Regions from separate parts of the Homo sapiens genome. Here region 2 is linked to region 1. The links are contacts of gene promoters, found by promoter capture Hi-C in blood cells and fetal thymus (Javierre and others, 2016). All regions are on one chromosome and are shown on one strand. Each heading gives the region's core, a stretch centred on a gene start or on the middle of the fragment in contact. The rest is flanking DNA. Distances are from core to core; before and after follow the strand shown.

Region 1 (4,379 bases), core at 750-3,249:
CAAGCAATTATCGTGCTTCAGCCTCCCAGGCAGCTGGGATTACAGGCGGATGCCACCATTCCTGGCTAATTTTTTTTTTTTTTTTTTGTATTTTTAGTAGAGACGGGGTTTGGCCATGTTGGACAGGCTGGTCTGGAACTCCTGACCTCAAGTGATCCGCCAGCCTCGGCCTCCCAAAGTGCCGGGATTACAGGTGTGAGCCACCGTACCTGGCCTTCCTATGCTTTTTTGTTAAACTCTTCCACAGGACTTTAATAGTTCCTGCTAAATTTCAACTTGTTAGATTTAGTCTCTGCTCAGTTTGTCATGCAGTAGATAAGGCAACCCTTCCTGCTTCAGGTCATCCACAACTTCCATGACTGCTGCTGTATTCTTATCCAAGTCACTGATGGCACCCTGAATTGGCTGGCCAGGGCAGGAGGTTTGGGCAGGCCCCTAGCAGCCTCATCTGCTGGTCCCTCCTCTTCATCAGCCACCTCTGGGCTAGTCTTTAATAAGCCTCAGTGCTATCATCCAGCATTGATTTCACTTTCGCATCTAAGATGTGAATTGTCAAATGCCCTGTTGAAATCTGCATTTGCTGTATCTGCAGCATCCGCCTACCTGGTACTCCTGCAAAAAAGAAAGATACTGTGTAAATCTGGTATTCTCTTTTCCTTTAGTGTTTAATCACAAAATTTCACTTAGTGCTGATTAAGCTCACTGGCCTGTAATTTTCATCTCCATCTTCTGTCCTGTGAAAATTCAGCACTGCTTGCCCTTTTAGGACTTCTGGCACTTTGCCTGATTTTCCCAGATTTCCAAGGGAGGAACTCAGTGGGTTTTCACTCTCGTCTTGTTTAAACCTTACATCCAGTTTGGCAGATGATATGCCCATTTGTTTTATCCCGTAATTCATGCCGCCAGATTTTTTGGCATCAGGATCACAATCCTACTCATCTGAAACCTACTTAGGTGGTGCTTTTCTGCCACATTCCACTTCCTTGTGATATTTAGAAATGTCTTGTTAGCCTGTTTCCATAGAGAATGGCAAGAGCCCTCAAGTAGAGGCCACACCTAAAATTAAGCTTGATAATGGAATGTATGTTTTTCCTTCGGTTACTCTCCGCTCTTTCCCTTTTCCATCCCCTTTCCTTTTATTTTTCTCCCCGCTCTGCACCTGCCAGCTGGCCCCCAAGGAAATTAAGGGCTCCTCTTCTGGTGTGAAATGCTGGCTCCCTGAAAACATCATTTTAAAAAGCATGTTAATAAAGCAAAGCCAAGTGTATTATGCACTGCGGTCAAGAGCACTACTTCACAGTCTTTAGTCTTCGGAGGAGGAGGGGGAAATGCAGGATATTTATGAGGATTCTGGGGTCTTCCTTAAGGCTAGTCTTTCAATGCAGGGCTTGAGTAGGGTTAGGCCAAGTTCATGATATAATGGTCCAAGGTTGGGGAATAAATTAGAAGTACCGAATGTTATCTTCTAGCCTTGGGTCCTTGGGTGGGTTTCTTAAATTTTTTGAGCTTCAGGTTCCTCATCTGTGAAAGGGTTAGATAAGATTCAGTGAGATAATGTGTGACTCTGGCACATGGTGAGCTCTAGATAAATGGCGCTTTTGTGTCCATCAGTCTCATTCCCAAAGCCTAGGCTTTCGGGTCGGTCATCCGGCTGCCCGACCCGCGACGGCGCAGGGGAATCGGCGAGCGTGGCGGGGTGCTGCGCTGCGCCCCTCAGCCGGCAGAGGCCGCCAGCGCGCCCTCGGTCCGGACGGTGCCCGCCCCTGCCACCGCCTCCCCGCGCATGGCTGCCCCGGCGGCTGCCTGACCGCCGCCCGCCACCTCGGCGGCCTCGCAACCCGTGGGAGCCCGTGGCCATCGCAGACCTAGAGGACACGTTGGGCGGCGCAGTCGCCGCGGCAAGGTCGGCGGGCGGCGCGGCGCGAGGGACGGCGAGCGGGGGGCGGCCCGGCCCGGGTCCTCGCGGGTCCTCGGCGGGCCCGGGGGAGGGCCCTCTTTGTGGCTGCAGTTGGCAAGATGGCGCCGGTGGGGGTGGAGAAGAAGCTGCTGCTAGGTCCCAACGGGCCCGCGGTGGCGGCCGCCGGCGACCTGACCAGTGAGGAGGAGGAAGGCCAGAGCCTATGGTGAGGCCGCGGGCGGTCGGGCCGGGCCGTGGGGGGCGCGGCCTCTGGGCCGGACCGTCGGACACACTGAGGGGCCGACGCGAGCCGGGCCATCCCAGCCCGGCCCGGGGCTGACCACTCTTGCCATTGTCGCCACAGGTCCTCCATTCTGAGCGAAGTGTCCACCCGCGCCAGGTCCAAGCTGCCGTCCGGCAAGAACATCCTGGTCTTCGGTGAGCGCCGGCGGCGGGGCGTTGCCCCAGGTCGCTGGGGTGGGCGAGGCGGGCGCCCCTCCCTCAGGTCCCCGCCTTCCCCGTTCCAGCCGCCTGCCCGCAGCCTGGCGGGAAAGGGACCGTCGGCCCTGGCCGGTCAGCTGGAGAGTGGTCAAGCCTCCAGCGCCTGAGGGTGGGATGCTGCCCTCTTTGGAGAGCGTAGTGGTGCTTTGGGGTTGTCGGCATATTGTTTCAGTCACTTGGCCCTCTATGCCTTCATTGCCTCGACGGTTACCAAATTGAGGTCGTGGAGAGGGGAAGCTAGTAGATGAGATTAGGTGGAGAAGGTGGGAGAACGAGGTGACCTGGGCTCGGAGCTGTGGGGAAATGACCACGGGAGCCTTCTTTGAGCCTCATCAGTAGTGCATAGTCCGAGGTTTTAGGGACTTTGCAGAGGACAGAGAGTCAGCACTGGGGACGTTTCCTCCATTATGCTAGCCCTCACTGCTAGGTTACCTGAGTCAGGTCCCTTACTCCCTCTGGCCTCACTCTCCTCAAGTGAGGGAGTTTGGGTACATTCACACAGCAAGTCCATTTGTTGCTTGGGACCTGTGGGCTGGGCACAGGCTCAGCATAGGCGACTCTTAAACACTATAGAAGAATCTCAGTCTGGTGGAAGACAGATGTATTGGTGATTGCATTGCACCATGCCGATTATTGTGGAAGCATTACACTGCTTAGAGCTGGTGAAGGAGGATGATTCGGGGGTTGAGTATTTTGCAGAAAAGTGTCAGTATGCAGGGACACAGATGACAAGAGGGTGTGGGGTTTGGAAACTGCTAGAAGCGCCTTGTGGTTGGTGGCTGCTAAGGTAAGTTGGGGGCAGATTGTGGGAAGGCTGAAGAGTTAGTGCTGTTTCCTGAAGTTCTCTGATTTTTCAAATGGCTTTTATCTCACCTCCATCCCCCAATTCCCATGGGAATCACTGCCTTGGTAGTTTTCCTACTGTTAGAATGTGTGACCTTTCTCAGGAATTGACTGTGGTAGGTAATACCGGACCCTTAGAGATCTTCAAGAAGTGGGGGATCAAGATCACCAGATCTGAGTTTTAGAAAGAACGCTGCCTGCAGAGGGACAGTAGCTCAAAATGAGCAGGTACTGAAGTCAGGCTGACAGGTCCTCACCTTGGTCTGGATGCAGAGGGCCTGAATAAGGTAGAGGCATTGGAGATGGAGAGGAGGTCTTTGATCTGTGGACTGACTGCCTTTCAATTCTCATGTTCTGTAATTCCATATTATTAAATGGCAGAAGTGCCTAGTAATGTTTGGCGATGGTTCTCCTTGATGTTTAAGGATCCGGGGAAGGGGGGTGTTGTTTGGGTGGAGGGAGATGAAGAAGTGCTTAATAATTAACTGAGATTGTACTGAAGAGTTTTGCTAGGTCTATAATTATTTTCGTCAGTTTCTTAGCCTTCAGAATGTTTGTGAAGGAGATGTACTAAAATCAAAAGTGAATAACTTCCATTCTTCACCATTGTGAAGCAGGATCAGACTTTTTTTAGTTCACAGTACCTGGACTTTTAGGTTAATTGTATCATATTTTGAAGATTTCTTGTTTTTCTTGTGGTGAAACTTTTTCTTGTGAGAAACTAACCCTACCTTTTACTTTCACTTCTCCGAATGCATGTCTTATAAATTATAGATAGGGCCTGTGGACCTGCCTCATTATTTCCCTTTTGAAGTAAGGATAACTGCAGTAGAATGTCATTTTAGATCTTGGAATTTGCTGCCTTTACCACCCTCTCCTCCCCACCCTCCCAACCACTCTTCCAGCAAAGTCCTTTGTTTATGAAAGCAGGTGAGACTTCAACAGCAGACTTTGCATGAAATTCTTAGTTTCTCCGTGTCATGTGAGTGTCATGCCTCCCCATCCTTGCCCGGAATAAACAGTACACCTTTGTCTTGCAAACATCCTTTGTAGGTGAAGATGGTTCTGGTAAAACAACCCTCATGACTAAACTACAAGGAGCTGAGCATGGCAAAAAAGGAAGAGGCCTAGAATATCT
Region 2 (4,379 bases), core at 1,282-3,781, 2.4 Mb before region 1:
GAAAGACATTAAACAAACACACAAATTATATAGTTATAACTGTTACAAATGACAAACAGAAAAATCATAATATGGCCATGACTGTTAAAAAAAAAAAAAAAGAAGAAGAACAAGACCAAGAAAAAGATAATCAGTCTGGTATGAGGGCTCACACCTGTAATCCCAGCACTTTGGGAGGCTGAGGTGGGCAGATCACTTGAGGTCAGGAGTTCGAGACCAGGCTGGCCAACATGGTGAAACCTCGTCTCTATGAAAATAAAAAAATTAGCGAGGCATGGTGGCACACCTGTAATCCCAGCGACTTGGAAGGCTGAGGCAGGAGAGGGAGGCAGAGGTTGCAGTGAGCCAAGATCACGCCACTGCACTCCAGCCTGGGTGACAGAGCAAGACTCCGTCTCCAAAAAAAAAAAAAAAAAGAAAAAGAAAAAAAAAGAAAATCACAGGATGCAATAAGCACACGCCAGCGCATGTTCTTCATACCACAGAATGTAACCCATTTGTGGTGGTCCTGTAGTTTTTACCTTTTGATTAGTTCTTCAGGGGTGAGCTCAGTAAATCATCCCTTTCCACATTTCCTAAACCCACCTCTCAGGGAAGGCAATTCTCTGAATTGCCTTCCCTGAAGGCAATTCAATGAAGGTTCTATGCCTGTGTTTCGGTTTATCATATTTATTTTACAGGTTGGAAACTGTACACTTATCTTTCTCCCACTGGTCTTTGAGCTCCGTAAAGTTAGGGCCTCTGACATTTGTCTTAGTGCCCAGTATTTGCCACTCATTCACCGAGAAACATTTACAGAATGCCTAAATTCCAGGTACCAGGCTGCTGGGCACTGAATTCACTCATTTGCCCATCTACTCATTTATATCACAGCACCCAGTACATAACAGTCATTCAACATGAACTAAGATGTTGCACCCGAAGAAAATCACTAGTCAGTGCCCTTGGAGGGGAGAAGAAAAAGGACTAATAGACCTCTGCATACACCCAAAGGACATTTTACCTAATTTTAAATCTCCTTTACTCCCAAATGTAGACATGTAGGTCTACATTCTCTCAGACAGATGAACTTTGGAATCCATCTTCCCACATCACCAAAAAGTTTCTGATATTAAAACGTGTTATCATTTTTTCTGAATTGACAATGAAACAGTACTGATACTCCCTGCAGGAAATTTTGCTTACCAAAGCTGCAATGGTGTTGAGACTGATATACCAACAATTTCCCTTCCTGTGTCCAAAAGATCCAGCAAACCTCAGTTTCCAATGACAGGCAGTGAGATGTCACATTTCTAGGTAGGACCCTTCTAATCAACATTACACAGATTGAAACTGAGCTTCTCTTATCAGTTAGGAGATCTCAGAAGTTTGGTAGTTCTAAGCAACTTCAGAGGGGCTAGGAAGTCACTCAATCAGTTTGATTATAAAAGACATACAAGCTTCTTGAACTTCAGAAGAAATTAACATCAAAACACCATATCAGACTCCCAAATGACTTACTTTCTCCTGAAAGTAGTTTGCTGACAAGTTATAAATTTCCACAGTGCCATCTGTTCGTGAAACAGCCAATCTGTTTGACTGGTTATTGTAAGCCACACAGCGGATTCCTGATGGAACATAATTAAAGAAACGTACTCGATGGACCTTAAATTCACCCATTCCTAGGGGGCGAAAAGAGAGTCATTATTGCTATATGTTAACTGCAGTATGTCACATATAGTATTCAGTTCCTTAATATCACTGTTCTGGCTGGAAGGCTCCAACAACATCTCCCTGAAGTTCATTTCCAAATGGCTGCTAACAATGCCCCCCACAAGAATTACTCAATCTTCAAAAGCTCAGAATGGCTTGAATAATAAGGAGGCTTCAGCAAAAAATCAAAAAGGGTCCTACTCCATAGCTCCAGAGTTCCTATCTCGGGGCGCCTAGGAATCCGCATTTTAGCAAGCATCTCTCCTCAACTCTATTGCTAAGTTTGCAAACAACAGACCTAAACTGAGGTAGTGACAGTGAGGCTGATGGGGCAGGCAGAACCGAGCTCCTCTTGAGGAAGAAACGACAGGGTTTGACTTAATCTGGCTGCCTGGTCTGACGTCTGTCACTTACCCTACCCCGTCCCCCCGACGCCCGCCAACATATATACTGGCCGAGAGTAGAGACCAGGTCTTGTTCGCCCCTCACTGGCCTAGCTTCAAGGTTAGGAACCCGCAGACAGAGCAAGCGCGTTCGGTCGGGCCGGGGCGTCTGAGGCGCGCGCGGTCTTCGCCTCCCCTTCCCTCTCCCCGAGTCTACAGAGTAGCCCCCACCCCGCCTCGGGACAAGGAGACCCTCGGGACAAGGAGCTCAGCCGGACGCCGACCCTGGGCCGGCCACCTTGTAAGACCCCCCCAGCTCTCGCAGCCGCTTCCCACGCCCCTTCCCCAACTCACCAGCGGCCCCACGCTCCCCTTCCCGGTGCTCGCCTCTCTCCGCCCCGGCCCCACGTGCGCGCGCGCTCTCAGGCTCTGCCCCGGAAGTGCTCCTGGCGCATAGTCGGAAGTGCGCAGGCAGTGCTCGCGGCGGCGGCGACGGCGGCGGGAGGTTCGGTTGTCGCCCGTTGGCCGCGCGGCGCCGCGCTCGGCGGCCGCCATTGCAGGTCAGGCCGCGGGCGGGGGGCACGGGAGGCTGCGGGGAGCGAGGGCCGAGCCGGGATTGGGGGCGAGGGCGCGAGGGAGCGGGAAGCTAGGGAGCCGGGGCCGGGCGGGGCGCGCGGCTCGGAGAGAAGAATGGCGAGCCGAGGGGCGGGGAGCGCGGGCGGGGGAGGGGTGGCCGGGAAGGGGGAGGGCGGCGGGAGGGCGGCGCGGAGGTGGGGGCAAGCCCGGAGGGGCCTCCGGGGTGGGAGGGCCAGGAGTGTGGGGGAAGGGAGCGGTGTGGAGACGGAAGGCGGAGGGAAGGAAGGGAGCGAGCGGGGCGGAGCGGGAGAAGGGCGGAAAGGGTGGCCGAGCGCGGGCGGAGGACGGAGAAGGGGGCGGCGAGGGCCGGAATCTCGAGGTACGTGCGGGAAGGGGCTCTTCCCGGGGTTGGGAGGGAGCCCAGCCCGCTATGCTTGCGGGAGCGGAGTAGAACTGGAACCTAGGAAGTAGCGGGAAGAGCAGAAAGGGGAGTTCGGGGTGGGGGTTAGGACCGTGAGGTTTTGTTCCAGGTAACATTTGTAATCGTGGAGGGGGGAGGCTTCTGGGAGAGGTAATTGGAAGGGTGGTTGGAGAGTCATTCCAGGTTCTTTTGTGGGAGGGAAGCCGAGAGACGAGTGGGGTGGGGTCCTGGAGGAGTGGAGTACTTGAGAACCGGGAACAATTTGGAGAACGAGGGTGGTAGAGAAAGGACGTTTAAAGAGTAATCTTTGGGAAGAGGGTGAACGGTTTGGAAGACCACTCCAGTGGGTGGTGTGGAGGAAGGCGGTTTAAAGAATAGTTTCCCTGGGAGGCAGGAAAAGGGGTTAAAACAGCTTGTAATTTGGAGGGGGGTGGAGAAGAGGGGGGAAGCGGATTGAGAAGTCCCAGAAAGTGGGTGGGACTAGAAATAGGAAGTGTTTGTAGCTCTAGCAGAAAGGGTGGGAGGGGGCCGAGAGGGAGTGGGTGGAGAAGATGGGGGTGGGTGGGAGGAAGAGCACAGAGGGAGACTCTACGCCGGGCTAGAAAGGAAAGGGTTTGGGGGAGTACAGGGGGCCGTACCATTAAGAGGAGGACAGGCTAAGATGGGGCTGCAGAGTAGCAGAAGATGGAGAAAACTGCAGTAACTCAGATCGACTGAAGCCATCTTTTCCACCCATTGCTACAAATACCAGTAATTGATTCCCTCCAACGTGGGAATCCTAAAATGTGATGGGAAGTATCACGTGTATGCATAGCATCCACACACGTTTTTGAACACACTTCACTAATGTAAAGTTTGGAAGCATTCAATTCCACCAACCCTCCATAAGCCCCTTTTTGGAGGGGAGCAAGATTCTCATTTGGAAACAGGATTTTAGACTTAGTAACATAAGCCTTTCAAGAGACAAGATCCCCTTCAAAAGTATAGACCTGTCCCCTTCAGTTACAAAACCACGATAACACTACAAATAAAAATAATCTGTATTCGGTTGTATGTAAAACGTTCTGAGTTGTTCACTTGGTAGAAAGGCACATAGAGACATAGTCATCATATTTAGAGAAATTACCTTCCAGAACTTAATCCCTGAAGCAGTTTGGTGAACCACAACTGCCATGTTTGAATTCTACTGTTATGAAAACTTGATTTTATTCTGATGACCTGCTGCTTTCGTAGAATGCTTTAGTCCGTTATAAACATTAATATGCTAACACAGTGTAGTATTAAGACATTCTATTTGATGAATACTA

The links. Contacts are between HindIII fragments. The CHiCAGO score rates a contact against its expected background, and 5 or more counts as called.
Region 2: the fragment with the promoter of CHTF8 here is called in contact with the fragment with the promoter of DYNC1LI2 in region 1 in 1 of 17 cell types (total B cells); the score reaches 5.1 in total B cells.

What each region holds. Positions count from the first base shown.
Region 1 is chr16:66,749,229-66,753,607 of GRCh38, reverse strand. DYNC1LI2 (dynein cytoplasmic 1 light intermediate chain 2) reads left to right here and starts at 1,999. Exons shown (of 13, transcript NM_006141.3): 1 at 1,999-2,123; 2 at 2,262-2,335; 3 at 4,295-4,379. The coding sequence starts at 2,017. It overlaps DYNC1LI2-DT (DYNC1LI2 divergent transcript), which reads right to left and starts at 1,856. Exons shown (of 2, transcript NR_133569.1): 1 at 708-1,856; 2 at 1-612. RefSeq lists an enhancer at 1,643-2,358 and a silencer at 1,572-2,371. The HindIII fragment of the contact is 3,643 bases long and covers 1,070-4,379 here.
Region 2 is chr16:69,130,740-69,135,118 of GRCh38, reverse strand. CHTF8 (chromosome transmission fidelity factor 8) reads left to right here and starts at 2,531. Exons shown (of 4, transcript NM_001039690.5): 1 at 2,531-2,635. It overlaps DERPC (DERPC proline and glycine rich nuclear protein), which reads left to right and starts at 2,531. Exons shown (of 3, transcript NM_001002847.4): 1 at 2,531-2,635. It overlaps UTP4 (UTP4 small subunit processome component), which reads right to left and starts at 2,470. Exons shown (of 17, transcript NM_032830.3): 1 at 2,430-2,470; 2 at 1,501-1,661. The coding sequence starts at 1,659. RefSeq lists silencers at 2,422-2,781, 2,802-2,951. The HindIII fragment of the contact is 3,017 bases long and covers 1,442-4,379 here.